Linked DNA regions of Homo sapiens: regions 1, 3, 4, 5 and 6 are each linked to region 2. Evidence: promoter capture Hi-C in human tissues and cell types (Jung and others, 2019). All regions are on one chromosome and are shown on one strand. Each heading gives the region's core, a stretch centred on a gene start or on the middle of the fragment in contact. The rest is flanking DNA. Distances are from core to core; before and after follow the strand shown. Region 1 holds the start of LOC124902839 (small nucleolar RNA U13). Region 2 holds the start of POLD4 (DNA polymerase delta 4, accessory subunit). Region 3 overlaps KDM2A (lysine demethylase 2A). Region 4 has its middle 13 kb from the start of CABP2. Region 5 holds the start of AIP (AHR interacting HSP90 co-chaperone). Region 6 overlaps LOC107984341 (a long non-coding RNA gene).

Region 1 (2,700 bases), core at 77-2,576, 130 kb after region 2:
TCCTCTCTTAATTCTACTAGTAGGGCAATTCCTGTAACTCCAACAATAATATCAATGATGTGTATAGTGATACGTAACTCCTACACCAAAATAAATGTTGCAAAATAGGCACCATAATGGTTGACTATTATTGCAGTACATAGGTCAGTGACCATTCCTATAATATATAAAAGACCATTCATATAAAAGTTGTGAATTCTTCATTAATTGTTATTTTAAAATTTTTAATACTTTTAATTCTACCAAAAAGTTTCAAGAGCAGTAGCATTAATAGTTCTACACTCTTCTCTGCAATTCTCCAACTGTTAACATTTCTCCACATCTGCTCATCTCCATACTAGCTTAGTATTCTGCTAAGCTACTTGAGAGTAACTTACAAACATCACAACCCCCAAATATTCTAATTGCTGTTTAATCCCAGTATCATCTATACTTTCATATATGATTCAGCCCTTACCAATTAGAATTCTGCTAAAAAATAAGCTCTCATTCTCTAAGGTGGAGGCTAGCCAGCAAACAACACTTAGTGGATTTGGCCTGCTGCCTCTTTTTATGATTCCTGTGAACTAGGAGTGTTTTTTACCTTTTTTTTTTTTTTTCGGGTCAGACAGGTAATGTGCTGACGTATTAATAGTAACAAGGTTCAAGGGTGGCATCTTTCACATACGTGCATGAACACCTAATCATGATCATGAACTATATAAAAGGATCGTTTTTTACATTTTTTAATGGTTGAAAAAAATTTAAGAGTATTCTGTGACATGTTAAAGTTATCTGAAATTCAACTTTCAGTGTCTATGAATAAAATTTTATATTATTTGAGCCACACTCATTTGTTTAAGTATTTCATGCTACAAGGTAGGGTTAAACAGTTACAATAGACACTTTATGACCCACGAAGCCTAAAATATTTACTATCTGGTCCTTTGCAGGAAAAGTTTGTCAACTCTTGCCTTAAGGTATCCATTGTATATAATAAATTAACTTTTTTCTATGCATCTAGAAGGGTATTAGCTGTGTATCATCCTAGAGAAAAATGAGAAAATAAGATACACAAATTATTTTATTTTGGGCTTAATTCTCTCTTGAAACCCCAGTTGAGAAAGACAGTATATACATTTATATAATTAAAGTAAGATGCTTTGAGTATAGTCATCAGTGTAGAAAAAGATACATGAATTTAAAGTTCTGAAATTTGGGTTGATAAGCCCCATTACACCAAATTATTCTGTGAGCATAAAAATGAAACACATGGCTCAAGAGATTACCAGAGGTAAATGTCTGGCCTTATAAAAATCCAAGATACTGTGGGATGCAGTAGCTCACACTTGTAATCCCAGCACTTTAGGAGGCCAAAGCGGGCAGATCACTTGAGCCCAGGAGTTCAAGACAAGCCTGGGCAACACAGCAAAAACCCATCTCCAAAAAATACAAAAAAATTAGCTGCATGTGGTGGCGTGTGCCTGTAGTCCCAGCTACCTGGGAGGCTGAGGTGGGAGGATCAACTGAGCCCAGGGAGGTTGAGGCTGCAGTGAGCCATGACTGTGACACTGCACACCAGCCTGGGCAACAGAGTGAGACTCTGTCCCAAATATTAAAAGAAAAAAATGTTACTTTTTCCCATTCACTATGGTGTTGGCTAAAAAATAAAATAAAATAAAATAAAATTTTAAAAAAAGGAAAGAAAAAGAAATCCAAGATACCAAAAACCTCACAGAATTGGAGTCCCTAAAACGGAGTATGTAAATCGTGTTAAAATTTTTATTTGGCCAGTCGCAGTGGCTCACACCTGTAATCCCAGCACTTTGGGAGGCTGAGGTGGGAGGACTGCTTGAACCAGGAGTTCTAGACCAGCCTGGGCAACGCAGTGAGACCAAGTCTCTACGAAAAAAATTAAAAATTAGTCAGATGTGGTGTGCACCCACGGTCCCAGCTACTTGGGAGGCTGAGGCAGGAAGATGCTTGAGCCTGGGAGGTTGAGGCTGCAATCATCCATGATCACGCCACTGCACTCTAGCCTGGAAAACAGAACAAGATTCTGCCTTAAAAAAAAAAAAATTAAATTTAAAATTTTGTGTGTTCCCAAAATGTCAACACTGCATTTTAACTGAAAGAAAAATGGAAGTTTTGATAAACCATCAGTGAATCTCTTGTAACATCTATCATAACTGGAGTAAACCTCTTCACATGCAACTGTTACATAAGATTACTTACCCGTGTCCGATCTTCAATGTTGTATATTTTTAACTGCATAGGGATGTTGAAGCTATGCAAAAAATTGCCCCCAAACACTAATGTGTCTGTAGGAGTATACACAGCATGAATCCAGCCTAGGAGAAGGGGAACAGAGGGCAGTGGCTGAAAACACACATTACAGTAAGTCTCTCTCAGAGAACTAGTACAAGACCCCTAGATCACACTCTTCACTCTGATTCTGCTTCTTAGTGGTTTGTCAAGTTACTTAATCTCTCAAAGCCTCAATTTCCTCTATAAAACCAGGATAAATAATACCTCTTATGGTTGCTCATGAGCATTAAATGAGAAAATGCACATCAAATGCTTAGCACATAATAAACGTTTACTGGAGCACCAACTATAAACCAGGCTCTGTACAAGATAGTTTACAATTCAGGGGTGTCCAATCTTTTGGCTTCCCTGGGCCACACTGGAAGAAGAATTGCTTGGGCAACACATAAAATA
Region 2 (2,700 bases), core at 176-2,675:
CTTAGCCCTCTTCCAGTGCAGAACACCCAGACCCCAGAGCAGGGAAAGGAGGAGGCAGAGGCCTCTGAGCAGGCAGCAGCCCAGGAGTCTGTGCCCCACCCTCCCAGTATCCCTGGAAGGAAGAACCGGATGGGATCTCTGGAGGGTGATTAGAGCTGGGCTGGTCCCTGTGCTGGTTCCCAGACTCCCACTGGCCAGTACTTTTGCCTCCTGCCAGGAAGTTGGTGAGGGGGAGGCAGCAGTATGGGTGAGTCAGTGATGACAGGAGCCCAAGGGACAAAGGTCATGGGTGGAGAATTGAGAGACATTGTTTACAGCAGTCCACCTCCTCCAGGAGGCCTTCCAATGCTAATCATCCCTGTGGTCCTAACCAATCTCTGACCCACCCTTTCCCTCTTCTGGTAGGAATTATAGCCTCTCACTGACAACTGTGCATCTGTCTGCCTTGTGACAGTGAGCTCCTGGGGTGCAAGAGAGACTGTGGTTTGATTGGGGCCCTACAATGCCTGTGACTATCAGCAGTGATAATCATTTAGCTATACTTCCTACTTTCAAAAACTTTTTGACATCTATTTTAATTAACATGTGGGAAAGTGCTTAGAACAGTACTTGGCACATGGTACGTGCAATGAGTGTTAGGTTTATTATTAATATTTTCTGCTCAGACTCACATTATTGTGAGAGACAGGGCAGATTTTGCCAGTGAAGAACTAGGGATCCAAACACATTGTGGTGGGGGGACCAGACCCTTGCTCTGCCTTCCTACTCAGTATGGAATCTTCCTGACTGGTGGGGCGGGCCGGACACGACTTGGGACCCCAGGAGAGTCAAAACGGCAAACACTTACTCGGACTAAGAGTGGGCAGCATCTTTGGGCACAGACTGTGAGAAAGGAGGTTTCAGAACCCATGGGCTTCTCCAGCCAGGTCTCCTGGGGCCAGTGGGGGTTGGGTGGGAGCCGGGAAGGGGCCTGGATTAGCCCAAACTCTCTTCAGACCTCCAGACCTGCCCCCACAAGGCGGGGCGGGCCAAAGGACCGAGTGAAGGCTCCAGCTGGACTCTAGGGAGTTACAAACTGGCCACGGGGATTAGCGAAGCTGAAAAGAACATTTGCCTAGGAAGGGAAAACGGGAAGTGAGAGGCTGAAGATAACTCTCCTGAAGTCTCTCGGGACCCACAGCAGACCAATGGGGGCCGGGGAAGGTGGTGAAGTCGGGGCATCCCGACAGGTCCCCCGCCCCAGCCTGCCCCTCCTCCCGCGGCCCACAGCTGAGGCACCGCCCCGCCCCTCACCCTACACTGCCTACCATTGGCTAGCGCCAGGGCCCCGCCCCGCATAGGCGGCCTGCCATTGGCTGAAGTCTTTCCTGTTTGCGTGCTTTTGGGGGTGGGGGAGGCGTCCCTCCCTGGACCCCGGCGACTTCCTCTCTCGGTTTGTCTGGGTCATCTTGTCTGCCCGCCGCTGGCCTGGCCCCGTCTGTCTCTCTCAGCAGCTGTCTTTCTCGCGCCCACTGGCCGGTCTCTCCTCTTCCCCGCAGTTGCCTCCTTCTCTGCCTGCCTGGGTGGCCGCCATGGGCCGGAAGCGGCTCATCACTGATTCCTACCCGGTTGTGAAGAGGAGGGAGGGGCCCGCTGGGCACAGCAAGGGGGAGCTGGCACCCGAGCTAGGTCTCTGAGGTGTGAGGGAGGCAGGAGGAGTGGACACGGAGGGGCCTAGAGGAGGCCCCTAGAGGGGCGGAGGGGCCGATGGAAAGGGAAAGGTGGCCTGTCCTCCCCTCCCGACACCAGGTCTAGCTGCGGGGTGGCAGAGGCAAAGCGGTGGTGAGGAAGGCTGGGAGGTGAGGGGCAGGAGACTGAAGCCAACCTCGTACTGAAGAGCAGCTGTCATTGCAGGGGAGGAGCCCCAGCCCCGCGACGAGGAGGAAGCGGAGCTGGAGCTGCTGAGGCAGTTTGACCTGGCCTGGCAGTACGGGCCCTGCACCGGTGAGAACCCACCCAGCCCCACGGAGGCGCCTCTCCCAGCCAGTCACCCACACGTCTCTGAAGTCACCCAAGCGCTTGCGTGACTCTGACCCTCAGGAACTGTCTCCCCCCAACACACACATTCTCCAGCTCAGACTCTACCCCACCCCCCACAAGTCTCCAGAGTCTTCTTCCCACCCTGGCAGGGATCACACGGCTGCAGCGCTGGTGTCGGGCCAAGCAGATGGGCTTGGAGCCTCCCCCAGAGGTGTGGCAGGTGCTGAAGACCCACCCCGGAGACCCCCGCTTCCAGTGCAGGTCAGAGACAGGCCGGGAGGGCTTTCAGGGGAGCCAGGGCCTTCTCCAGGCACTGTCACCCTGCTGTCCTGACCTGAGGGAGAAATGGATGGAGGGTTGGAAGGCCTTGCTGAACAGGCAAGAAGATTCTATGAGGTGCCTGGCTCAGGAGGACACGCCACTATAATAATTCTTTTTTTTTGAGACAGAGTCTTGCTCTGTTGCCCAGGCTGGAGTGCAGTGGCGCGATCTCGGCTCACTGCAAACTCCGCCTCTCGGGTTCACGCCATTCTCCTGTCTCAGCCTCCCAAGTAGCTGGGACTACAGGCGCCCGCCAACACGCCCGGCTAATTTTTTCTATTTTTAGTAGAGACAGGGTTTCACCGTGTTAGCCAGGATGGTCTTGATCTCCTGACCTCGTGATCCCACCCACCTCAGCCT
Region 3 (2,736 bases), core at 209-2,708, 150 kb after region 2:
TCAAAATTGGAGTCAATCCTCTCAAACCCTACTGCTGCTTTATAAACTCACTTTATGTAATATCCTAAATACCTTGTTATTTTAACAATGTTTACAGCATCTCCACCAGGAGTAGATTCCATCTTAAAAAAACAAACTTCTTTATTTGCTCATCCATAAGAAGCAACTCTTCCATCTGCTCAAGTTTCATTATAGATTGCAGCAATTCAGTCGCATCTTCGACTCCATTTCTAATTCTAGCTCTCTCACTATTTTCACCACATTTGCAGTTACTTCCTCCACTGAAGTCTTGAACCCCTCAAAGTCATCAATAAGGGTGGGAACCAACTTTTTCCAAACTCCTGTTAATGTTGATATTTTGACCTCCTCCCATGTACCACAAATGCTCTTTTTCATTTTAATTATTTTTTTTAGAGACAGGGTCTCACTCTCATGCCCAGGCTGGAATAGAGTGGCAAGATCAGAGCTCATTGCAACCTCGAATTCCTGGGCTCAAGTGATCCTCCCACCTCAGCCACCCAAATAGTTGGGACTACAGGTGTACACCACCAAGCATGGCTAATTTTTTTTTTTTTTTTTTTTTTTTTTTTTTTTTGAGATGGAGTCTAGCTCTGTTGCCTAGGCTGGAGTGTGGTGGGGTGGTGTGATCTTGGCTCACTGCAACCTCCGTCTCCCAGGTTCAAGTGATTCTCCTGCTTCAGCCTCCCAAGTAGCTGGGACTACAGGCCCATGCCACCACACTCGGCTAATTTTTGTATGTTTAGTAGAGACCAGGTTTCACCATACTGGTCAGGCTGGTCTTGTACCCCTGACTTGTGATCTGCCCACCTTGGCCTCCCAAACTGCTAGGATTACAGGCGTGAGCCACCGCACCGGGCCATGGCTAATTTTTTGTAGAGATGGTCTCACTATGTTTCCCAGGCTGGTCTCAAACTCCTGGCCTCAAGGGATCCACCACCTGGGCCTATCAAAACATTGGGATTACAGACATGAGCCACTATGCCTGGCCATAAATATGTTCTTAATGGCATCTACAGTGGTGAATCCTTTCCAGATGTTTTTCAATTTATTTGGTCCAGATTTACCAGCAGAATCACTATGTCAGCTATAGCCTTATGAAATATATATATATACACACACACACACACATATATATATATATATTTTTTTTTTTGAGACAGAGTCTTGCTCAGTCGCCCAGGCTGTAGTGCAGTGGTGCAATCTCGGCTCACTGCAAGCTCCGCCTCCCGGGTTCACGCCATTCTCCTGCCTCAGCCTCCCCAGTAGCTGGGACTACAAGCGCCCGCCACCACGCCCGGCTAATTTTTTTTCTATTTTCAGTAGAGACTGGGTTTCACCGTGTTAGCCAGATGGTCTCAATCTCCTGACCTCGTGATCCACCCGCCTCGACCTCCCAAAGTGCTGGGATTACAGGTGTGAGCCACTGTGCCAGGCCATGAAATATATTTCTTAAATAATAAGACTAAAGTTGAGATTACTCCTTGATCCATGGGCCACAGAATGAATACTGCTATCTGGCATGAAAACGGTATTAATCTCAGGCAAGGCATGGTAGCTCATGCCTGTAATCCCAGCACTTTGGGAAGCTGAGGCAGGCAAATCCCTTGAGCCCAGGAGTTCTAAACCAGCCTGGGTAACAGGGTCAAACTGTGTCTCTACCAAAACACAAAAATTAACTGGGTGTGTTGGCATGTGCTTGTAGTCCCAGCTAAAGGCTGAGGTGGAAGGATCACCTGAGCCCAGGGACACTGAGCCTGCAGTGAGCCATGATTGTACCATTGCACTCCAACTTGGGCAACAGAATGAGACCTTGTCTTAAAAAACCAAACAGGCTGGGCACGGTCGCTCACGCCTATAATCCCAGCACTTTGGGAGGCTGAGGCGGGCGGATCATGAGGTGAGGAGATCGCGATCATCCTGGCTAACATGGTGAAACCCCATCTCTACTAAAAATACGAAAAAAATTAGCCGGACGTGGTGGCGGACGCCTGTAGTCCCAGCTACTCGGGAGGCTGAGACAGGAGAATGGCGTGAACCCAGGAGGTGGAGCTTGCAGTGAGCTGAGATCGTGCCACTGCACTCCAGCCTGGGCAACAGAGAGAGACTCCGTCTAAAAAGAAAAAAAAAAACCACACAAACAATATTAATCTCTTTGTACATTCCCATCAGAGGTCTTGGGTGAAGAGGTACACTGCCAGTGAGCAGTAACATTTTGAAAGGAACCTTTTTTCCTGAGCAGATCTCCACAGTGGGCTTAATAAATTCAGTAAACCATGCTGTAAAACAGATGTGATATCATCTAGGCTTTGTTGTTCCATTAATAGAGTAGATTTAGCATAATTCTTAAGGGCCCTAGGATTTTGGAATGGTAAATAAGCTTTTTTTGGAATGTTAAATTTGGTTTCCAATTAAAATCACCAGCTGCATTAGCCCCTAACAAGAGAGTCAACTTGTCCCTTGAAGCAACTGCCTTTTATCTAGCTATGAAAATCCTAGATGCTATCTTCTTCCAATAGAAGGCTGTTTCATTTACATGGAAAATCTGTTGTTTAGTGCAGCCTCCTTCATCAATGATCCTAGCTGGTTCTCCTGGATAACCTGCTGCAGCTTCTATATCAGCATGTGCTGCTGCTTTACCTTGCACTTCATTGTTACAAAGATGGTTTCTTAAACTTCATAAACCAACCTCTCCTGGCTTTAAACTTTTCTTCTGCA
Region 4 (2,700 bases), core at 201-2,700, 180 kb before region 2:
GCATAACTGTAATTATCTTGAAAGCATATGTTGTTACGGGTATTGGGACGTCGAACTTTCTGTGGCTGCAGGAATGTGTCCTTGCAGGCAGTACCAAGCCGATTCCTTAGCTGTAAGCATCTTAGAACCGTGGGTCGTGACTAGTGTGGAAAGTGCCTTGCTAGGTTTTTTTTGTTTTGTTTTGTTTGTTTTTTGTTTGTTTGTTTGTTTTGTTTTTTTTAGATGGAGTCTTGCTCTGTCACCCAGGCTGGAGTGCAGTGGTGCAATCTCGGCTCACTGCAAGCTCCACCTCCTGGGTTCACGCCATTCTCCTGCCTCAGCCTGCCGAGTAGCTGGGACTACAGGCACCCACCACCACACCCAGCTTATTTTGTTTTTGTATTTTTAGTAGAGATGGGGTTTCACCGTGTTAGCCAGGATGGTCTCAATCTCCTGACCTTGTGATCCGCCTGCCTCGGCCTCTCAAAGTGCTGGGATTACAGGCGCGAGCCACCACACCTGGCCATTTTTACATTTTTAAAGGTTTCTTTTAATTCCCTTTGACCAAGAGAGGGGTCCATTCTGTTGAGAGGTTTAGGGTTTTATTTATTTCTTTAGTGGATATATCCCCTTTTTTGTCAAGGTATGCCAGAGGCAGTATCAATAGCCAAGCTTTTATTATTTATTATTTATTTATTTTTAAGACAGAGTCATGCTCTGTCACCAAGGCTGGAGTGCAATGGTGCGATCTTGGCTCACTGCAACCTCCACCTCCCGGGTTCAAGCAATTCTCCTGCCTCAGCCTTCCTAGTAGCTGGGATTACAGGTGCACGCCACCATGTCTGGCCAATTTTTGTATTTTTAGTGCAGACATGGTTTCACCATGTTGGCCAGGCTGATCTTGAACTCCTGACCTCAGGTGATCTGCCTGCCTCGGCCTCCCAAAGTGCTGGGATTACAGGTGTGAGCTACCACACCCGGCCTGGCCTAGCTTTTATTTTGTCCCATATTGATGCCAGGGTGGTGTGCTACCTGTCCTGGGTCCATTATGTCCCTTGGTGGGACTTTATGGCCAAGGGACTTAGAGTCAAAAGTTGTATAGTCAATTAAACATTCTAGGTCAGGTGGGAATGGAGGTAGGCAGGCATTCATCAGCTTTAGGACCCCCTTTAAGCAACATAAGAGCCAAAACTCAAAAGCCAAAATGCAAGGTTATAAAATTAACTTATCTATAAATTCTATGCATTGAGCCATTGTAATCTTGGCTTGTAGCAATTAGTTATACAAAACACAAGCGTTTTATTAGCTGCTTAGGCATCTGTGTGCCCATCTTTACAGGTGGTACACACCTGTAATCCCAGCTACTCAGGAGGCTGAGGCAGGAGAATCACTTGAACACAGGAGGCAGAGGTTGCAGTGAGCCAAGATTGTGCCATTGCACTCCAGCCTGGGCAACAAAAGCGAAACTCCATCACCAGGATAAAAAAAAAAACAAAAGAAAAATAACAGGTTTAATCTTGGACAGGTGTACCCAGCTAGTGATTCCCTGAAGTTTAATCTTTGATTAACTTCAGTGAGCCAAGAACTAGTTCCTGATTAGCTTCACGTTGCAGTGAGATGAGATTATGCCATTGCACTCCAGCCTGGGCAACAAAAGCAAAACTCCAGAAAAACAAACAAACAAACAACAAAAAAATCAAGTTTAATCTTGGACAGGTATACCCAGCTAGTGATTCCCTGAAGGTTCCATCTTTGATTTGGAGGGTCTGAGCTAATTTTATCCCTCAAAATCAGCTCTTACAATCTCATATGATAGTCTCTGGGCCTGGAGGGATTGAATCATTTCAAATTCTGGAGGTAAAACAAAATATAAGTAATTAGCAACATTTTAAACAAAAGGTCATAAGCCATACCTAGTTGTTTTTTGTTTTTTAATGAGATGGGGGTCTCACAGTATTGACCAGGCTGGTCTCGAACTCCTGGCCTCAAGTGATCTTCCCATCTCGGCCTCCCAAAGTGCTGGGATTACAGGCGTGAGCCACCACACCCAGCCAGCTCTACCTAGTTTTGAGCAGGGCAGGAAAGGAAGTTCACAAGTAGCCAAACATTTAAATTATTTAGCATCAAGGCATAGAATAAATTAGATTATTTCAGATAGAGGAAAAATTATTAAATGGATCTTAATGTTTTTGAATACAGGCCTGTTCCTGTGTCTCATGAGAACAGTTTACTTTGTCACTTTTGCCCAGTTCTAAAGACAAGGCTTTGGTTAACTTGAGTTTGGCATCAGATACTGGCAGGAGTTGATGCCTTTTTCAGATGAGATGTGGATACCCAGAAGTCAAAGCCCTGTAATTTAACAGTACGAGGATTAGTCAATAGCACCTGATAAGGACCTTCTCCAAGGGGCTGAAGGTGGTGATACTGGTCTTCATGGTCTAACTAGAAGGTGTAAAAAAAATTCTACAACCTTGCAGCAATTAACTTTTATAGCTTTAGTAAGCCCCAGCAATAAAACTAAGTTAGAGACTTAACAGGATTTTGATTTTGAGGATGTTTGTTAAAGATGTTAAAAGATTAAAACATTTGATCAAAACAGAAGCACAGGTCATTGCAAAATAGTTACTCATTTAACCAAAGTGATAATTAAAAACCATGTAACTGGCTGGGCATGGTGGCTCATGCCTATAATCCCAGCACTTTGGGAGGCCAAGGTGGGCA
Region 5 (2,700 bases), core at 14-2,513, 130 kb before region 2:
GATCTTGGGGTGCCATTGTTCACATCTCTCCTTCTGATGTCTGTTCCATCCAGGATCCCCCTTGCCAGCCCCTTCTTCCAACGCCACCAACCCCCCAGCACATGGGGGCATGAACCCACACCACACATCCTGTCTCTTCTTAGAGAAGATATCTTTTCATACAGCGGATCACTCCAGCCATGCAGCTCCCCTCTGCTCTCAGGGCACTTATACTGCACTGGGCTAGGATGCTTAGCTGCCCGATTCGGCACGGTGCTGGCCAGGGGGCATGTGCTCATTTGCTCAATGTGCATGTCCTGCCTGACTGCTCTGCTGGGCACAGGGGCTGCCCCTGGGAGGTTCCCTACTCTGCAAACAAGTGGCAGCTGGGAAAAGCACTCCGGGAGGAGGCAACTACAGGAGAAGCAGGGAAGCCTGGAGTTGTAGGTTGGGGGAGAAGCGGGCAGAGGGGCTGGATCTGGGGGCCTGGCAAAAAGGAGAAAAGTGGGAGGTTCTTTACTTCCCAACCCTCATCTGTCCCAACAAGCCCCTAGTGCAGCAGGAAGGCTGCTAAAGAGTCCCTGTCTGGGAGACCTGACCTCTGGGCCCGTTCTCCGGCTTTGCACGTCCCAGGGTCTTGGTTTTCCACTCTAAACAGCGGCAGTTGGTCTAAGTGTTTTCAGAAGGCCCTTCCATCTACAAAGGATCATGAGCCTTGAAACCCAGATACCCGAGGACCACTCCCGGCCCTGGGTTTCCTCCAGCGTGGGGTCTGCCCAAGCACTGAGATCAACCCCCAACCCCAACCCGCTTGTGATGACTGACGGCCTCCCCCACCAATGCTGCTACAAGGCCGAGCCAGGGGGCGGGGCAGACAGGCCCGAATTCACCCCCTACTTAAATTCAGCCCAATCAGCGTCGAGTTCTGCATGTGAGCGGTAGGGGCAGTGGACGCTGCCCTCTGGGCATGCGCAACCTCTCGCCTAAGGCCTCCTCCCGCCTCGCATGCGCACCACGCCGCAGAGGGGGAGAAGGGTAGGGTAGACACGAACCTTGGTCCCATCTTGAAAGTCCGGGAGCTCTCCTCGGCCTTCCTGTATCACACGTTTTTGGATCCCGTCCTCCCGGAGTCTTGCGATGATATCCGCCATCCTCCTTCCCCGCTGCTCCCTTTCGGCAACTTCCGGACTCGCTCGGTAGCTTCCGGACTTGCTTCGGCAACTCCTAGCACCTCGGCAGCTTCCGAGCTAGCGCCATTTTGGTTGAGGGCAGAAGCCAAAAGGGACTGAGCGTGGAAACGGATGGTGATTGGTTCTCTGCGCTGGGGCTGAGCGCGCGCGTCTGCTCGGGGGCGGAGCCTAGGAATGTCTCGGGGCTGGACCCCAGCCTGTCAAGGAGGAAGGGCCGGGGTCCGCGGGCCGGGCGGGACGAGGACGTCCCTAACAATTGTCATTGAATTGATTGGGACTGCGGCCGTGTGGCACTTTGTTTGAAGTTGTGGATGGAATATAACAGCACTGCAGAGTTAGGAAAATGAAAAAAAAAAAAAACACCCGTAAGCCACACCCTCAAAGTGTTATGATTTTTGTGTATTTTCTTCCGGCTTTTTCTCTTTCGCATATCTAGTATGATTGTCGGGACTCTTGCATCCTGGATCTTCCTCTTTCAAAAAATAAAAAGAGGAAGAGGGAAAGAAAGGTGGAGAAGGAGACCAAGAGAGCCCATTGCGGGGTCGGAAATGAGTCATAGTTGTGCCCAATTAATATTAGGGAATAATCGATGAATGATAGAAATGAGGTACTTTAGCGCCGGGCGCGGTGGCCCTGTAACCCCACCACTTTGGGAGGCCGAGGCGAGAGGATCGCTTGAGCCCAGGAGTTCGAGGCTGCAGTGGGCCGTGTTCGTGCCACTGCACTCCAGGCTAGCCGACAGAGCGAGATGCTGTCTCAAAACAAAACAAAAAAAAAAAATTAAATTAAAAGAAAAGAGAAATGAGGTACTTTGGGGCTAAAACAACTTTTGTTTTTCTTTTTTTGAGACGGAGTCTCGCTCTGTCACCCACGCTGGAGTGCAGTGGCACAATTTCAGCTCACTGCAAGCTCTGCCTCCCGGGTTCACGCCATTCTCCTGCCTCAGCCTCCCGAGCAGCTGGGACTACAGGCGCCCGCCACCATGCCCGGCTAATTTTTTGTATTTTTAGTAGAGACAGGGTTTCACCGTGTTAGCCAGGATGGTCTCAATCTCCGGACCTCGTGATCCGCCCACCTCGGCCTCCCAAAGTGCTGGGATTACAGGCGTGAGCCACAGCGCCCAGCTGATATGAAACATTCTAAATAAAATACTAGGCTAATTGAATTCACTAATGTCATGTAAAAATGCATCAGTATGGGGCAGGTGTGGTGGCTTATGCCTCTAATACCAGCACTTTGGGAGGCCAAGGCAAGTGGATCTCCTGGATCTCCTTGAGCTCACAAGTTCAAGACCAGCCTGGACAACATGGCAAAATACCATCTTCACCAAAAATACAAAAAATTAGGTGGTGTGGTGGTGCACGCCTGTGGTCCCAGCTACTCAGCAGGCTGAGGCTGGAGGATTGCTTGAGCCCAGGAGATGGAGGTTGTAGTGAGCCAAGATCGCACCACTGCACTCCAGCCTGGGTGATAGAGTGAGACCCCATCTCAAAAAAAAAAAAAAAGCATCAATATGCTAAGTGAAATAACA
Region 6 (2,700 bases), core at 165-2,664, 240 kb after region 2:
CGATTCTCTTCCCCCTCCCTTTTTTTTTTTTTTTTTTTTTTGAGACAGTCTCACCGTGTCACCCAGCCTGGAGTGCAATGGCATGATCTTGGCTCGCTGCAACCTCCACCTCCCGGGTACAAGCAATTCTCCTGCCTCAGCTTCCTGAGAAGTTGGGATTACAAGCACCCGCCACCATGCCTGGCTAATTTTTGTGTTTTTAGTAGAGACAGGGTTTCACCATGTTGGCCAGGCTGGTCTCAAACTCCCTGTCTCAGGTGATCCGCCCCCCTCTGCCTCCCAAAGTGCTGGGATAACAGGCATGAGCCACCACACCCGGCCCTCTTCCCTATCCTAACTCCTGGTTTCTCTCCCCGACCCCCGACCCTGGTGTCTCCGCTTTCTATTCTTCCCTCTTCCCTGACTCCAGCTGCCTCTTTCTCCTCATCACCTGCCTCCTGAAGTCTCTTTCTTTCCAGCCTTCTCTCCATCATTTGGCCCACCCCCTCCTCCATGTTCATCTCACTCTCCTGGCCCAGTATCATCTGACTGAATGGCTTTCCCACTTTCCTTTACCATCCATTTGTTGCCCTTAATCACCTCAATCCCGTGCTCTCTGATTTTGTTACTTAACCATTTCCTGAACATCTCCCTCCACCCGCACCCCCCACCCCGGGAAAAAAGAAAAAAAGAAAGAAAACTTCTTCTAGGGTTAAAGGGTGTTGGGGGGTGATTATAAGCTTTAAGTGATAGAAAGTTTTCTTTTTTTTCTTTTTTTGAGTTGGAGTCTCGCTCTGTTGCCCAGGCTAGAGTGCAGTGGCGCGATCTCAGCTCACTGCAAACTCCACCTCCTGGGTTCAAGCGATTCACCTGTCTCAGCCTCCTGAGTAGCTGGAATTACAGGTGCCCGCCACCGTGCCTGGCTAATTTTTGTATTTTTAGTAGAGACGGGGTTTCACCATGTTGGCCAGGCTGGTCTCGAATTCCTGACCTGGTGATCCACCCACCTCCGCCTCCCAAAGTGCTGGGATTACAGCCGTGAGCCACCACGCCCAGCTGAAAGTTTTCTTTCTTTTTTCTTTTCTTTTCTTTTTTTTTTTTTTTTGAGTTTGGAACCTGAATTGATCAGGGGGAAAAAAATGAAGCAGAAATGCCCTGCAGATTCTTGGATCATCAAACATGGGTGTCACATGAGGTTCTTGCATGGAATGTGGCTGACGCTTTCCTTGGGACCATGGGACCACCACCCTCCCTGGCCCCATGCTTCCTTGCTGCCATCTTTTCCAGGTATGTCACCTTCCGCTGTGCAGACCCACTGCTCCTGAGCGCTGGGGTGTACTTTGGCTGTTGGGGCAACTGCAGCAGTGTCTGGGCCCCACCTGCTCTTTAGCAGCCTTAGCTTCGCTTTGGGGCCAGGCCACCCTCATTTCTCACTTCTAAAAGGGTGGGACTTCCTGCTGTGCCCGAGAGTGGAGCTCTAAGATGCAGAGCCTGTGCCTCAGCTACACCTGTGCTTGCTGGGGGAAGTTTCTGGCACCCTGGGGTTTCAGGGTCTGTTTGCAACCTTGCACTAGATTCCCAGCTTGGGTTGGTGGTGACAGTCATACAGGGCTCCAGCCACTTCCCCAAAGGGCCAAATGCTTAAGCACTTAGACCTGTTTAGCCCCTCCCAATGAGTCTGATCTTTTTTTATCTTCTTCAAGGGCATTCGCTACCTTTCATCAGTTTCTGCTAAAGCTGGTGTTCCTTCAGCCACTTTGTGAGAGGTTCTGAACCCGTCAGAACTTCAGTTCTCTTTAATAAAACAGAGTAGGCTGGGCGCGGTGGCTTAAGCCTGTAATCCCAGCACTTTGGGAGACCAAGGCGGGCAGATCACCTGAGGTCAGGAGTTCAAGACCAGCCTGGGCAACATTGTGAAACCCTATCTCTACTAAAAATACAAAAATTAGCTGGGCGCGGTGGCACATGCCTGTATTCCCAGCTACTCGGGAGGCTGAGGTAGGAGAATCACTTAAGCCTGGGAGGCAGGCGGAGGTTGCAGTGAGCCCGAGATCGTGCCACTGCACTCTAGCCTGGGCAACAGAGCAAGACTCTGTCTCAAAAAAATATATATTATATATAATATATGTATATAAATATATATAATATATATAAAACATAATACATGTATATAAATATATATAATATATATAAAACATATATTTAAAACATATATATTTTATATATATAATGTATATAAATAAAACAGAAGTAGTGACTCCTGCCCTGTTTCCTCCTAGGATTGTTGTGGAGTGAAATGGACTAATGGACATGAATACCCTTTGGAAACTAGAAGACAACTTATTTTAGAAAGGATTTCTGAGGTCTTGCACAGTGCCTCATGCCTGTAATCCCAGCACTTTGGGAGGCCAAGGTGGGCAGATCACCTGAGGTTGGGAGTTCGAGACCAGCCTGACCAACATGGAGAAACCCCATGTCTACTAAAAATACAAAATTAGCTGGGCATGGTGGCACATGCCTGTAATCACAGCTACTTGGGAGGCTGAGACAGGAGAATCACTTGAACCCGGGAGGCAGAGGTTGCAGTGACCCGAAATCGCGCTTTTGCACTCCAGCCTGGACAACAAGAGTGAAACTCCATCTCAAAAAAAAAAAGAAAAAAAAAGGATTTCTGGTTTTCCTATTTTTAAAAAATTTTTTACTTGGTAATTTTTTTTTTCA

Evidence for each region. The method cuts DNA at HindIII sites, captures the fragments that hold promoters and counts their contacts. A contact is called where the count stands out against the background at its distance.
Region 1: a fragment that was not itself captured here is called in contact with the fragment with the promoter of POLD4 in region 2 in 2 of the 25 tissues and cell types used here (liver and lymphoblastoid cells).
Region 3: a fragment that was not itself captured here is called in contact with the fragment with the promoter of POLD4 in region 2 in 3 of the 25 tissues and cell types used here (bladder, liver and lymphoblastoid cells).
Region 4: a contact is called between a fragment that was not itself captured here and the fragment with the promoter of POLD4 in region 2, in 1 of the 25 tissues and cell types used here (lymphoblastoid cells).
Region 5: a contact is called between the fragment with the promoter of AIP here and the fragment with the promoter of POLD4 in region 2, in 13 of the 25 tissues and cell types used here (adrenal gland, aorta, bladder and 10 more).
Region 6: a fragment that was not itself captured here is called in contact with the fragment with the promoter of POLD4 in region 2 in 11 of the 25 tissues and cell types used here (H1 embryonic stem cells, aorta, dorsolateral prefrontal cortex and 8 more).

The regions. Positions count from the first base shown.
Region 1 is chr11:67,218,918-67,221,617 of GRCh38, reverse strand. It overlaps KDM2A (lysine demethylase 2A), which reads right to left. Exons shown (of 21, transcript NM_012308.3): 10 at 2,215-2,330. It overlaps LOC124902839 (small nucleolar RNA U13), which reads right to left and starts at 710; the gene lies at 602-710. The HindIII fragment of the contact is 8,883 bases long and covers 1-2,700 here.
Region 2 is chr11:67,352,271-67,354,970 of GRCh38, reverse strand. POLD4 (DNA polymerase delta 4, accessory subunit) reads left to right here and starts at 1,425. Exons shown (of 4, transcript NM_021173.5): 1 at 1,425-1,668; 2 at 1,894-1,983; 3 at 2,169-2,280. The coding sequence starts at 1,572. All of the region lies in intron 2 of LOC100130987 (a long non-coding RNA gene), which reads right to left. RefSeq lists a silencer at 1,108-1,357 and enhancers at 1,538-1,587, 1,581-2,162, 2,163-2,700. The HindIII fragment of the contact is 15,541 bases long and covers 1-2,700 here.
Region 3 is chr11:67,199,632-67,202,367 of GRCh38, reverse strand. The region is part of intron 5 of KDM2A (lysine demethylase 2A); the gene reads right to left. Among named protein-coding and RNA genes, the nearest start is that of GRK2, 65 kb to the left of the region's middle. The HindIII fragment of the contact is 3,125 bases long and covers 1-2,736 here.
Region 4 is chr11:67,535,497-67,538,196 of GRCh38, reverse strand. No RefSeq gene overlaps it. Among named protein-coding and RNA genes, the nearest start is that of CABP2, 13 kb to the right of the region's middle. The HindIII fragment of the contact is 5,334 bases long and covers 1-2,700 here.
Region 5 is chr11:67,481,589-67,484,288 of GRCh38, reverse strand. It overlaps AIP (AHR interacting HSP90 co-chaperone), which reads right to left and starts at 1,263. Exons shown (of 6, transcript NM_003977.4): 1 at 1,032-1,263. The coding sequence starts at 1,130. RefSeq lists an enhancer at 1,362-1,421. The HindIII fragment of the contact is 17,225 bases long and covers 1-1,761 here.
Region 6 is chr11:67,112,214-67,114,913 of GRCh38, reverse strand. LOC107984341 (a long non-coding RNA gene) reads left to right here. Exons shown (of 2, transcript NR_160735.1): 2 at 2,259-2,622. Among named protein-coding and RNA genes, the nearest start is that of KDM2A, 5.7 kb to the left of the region's middle. The HindIII fragment of the contact is 5,381 bases long and covers 1-2,700 here.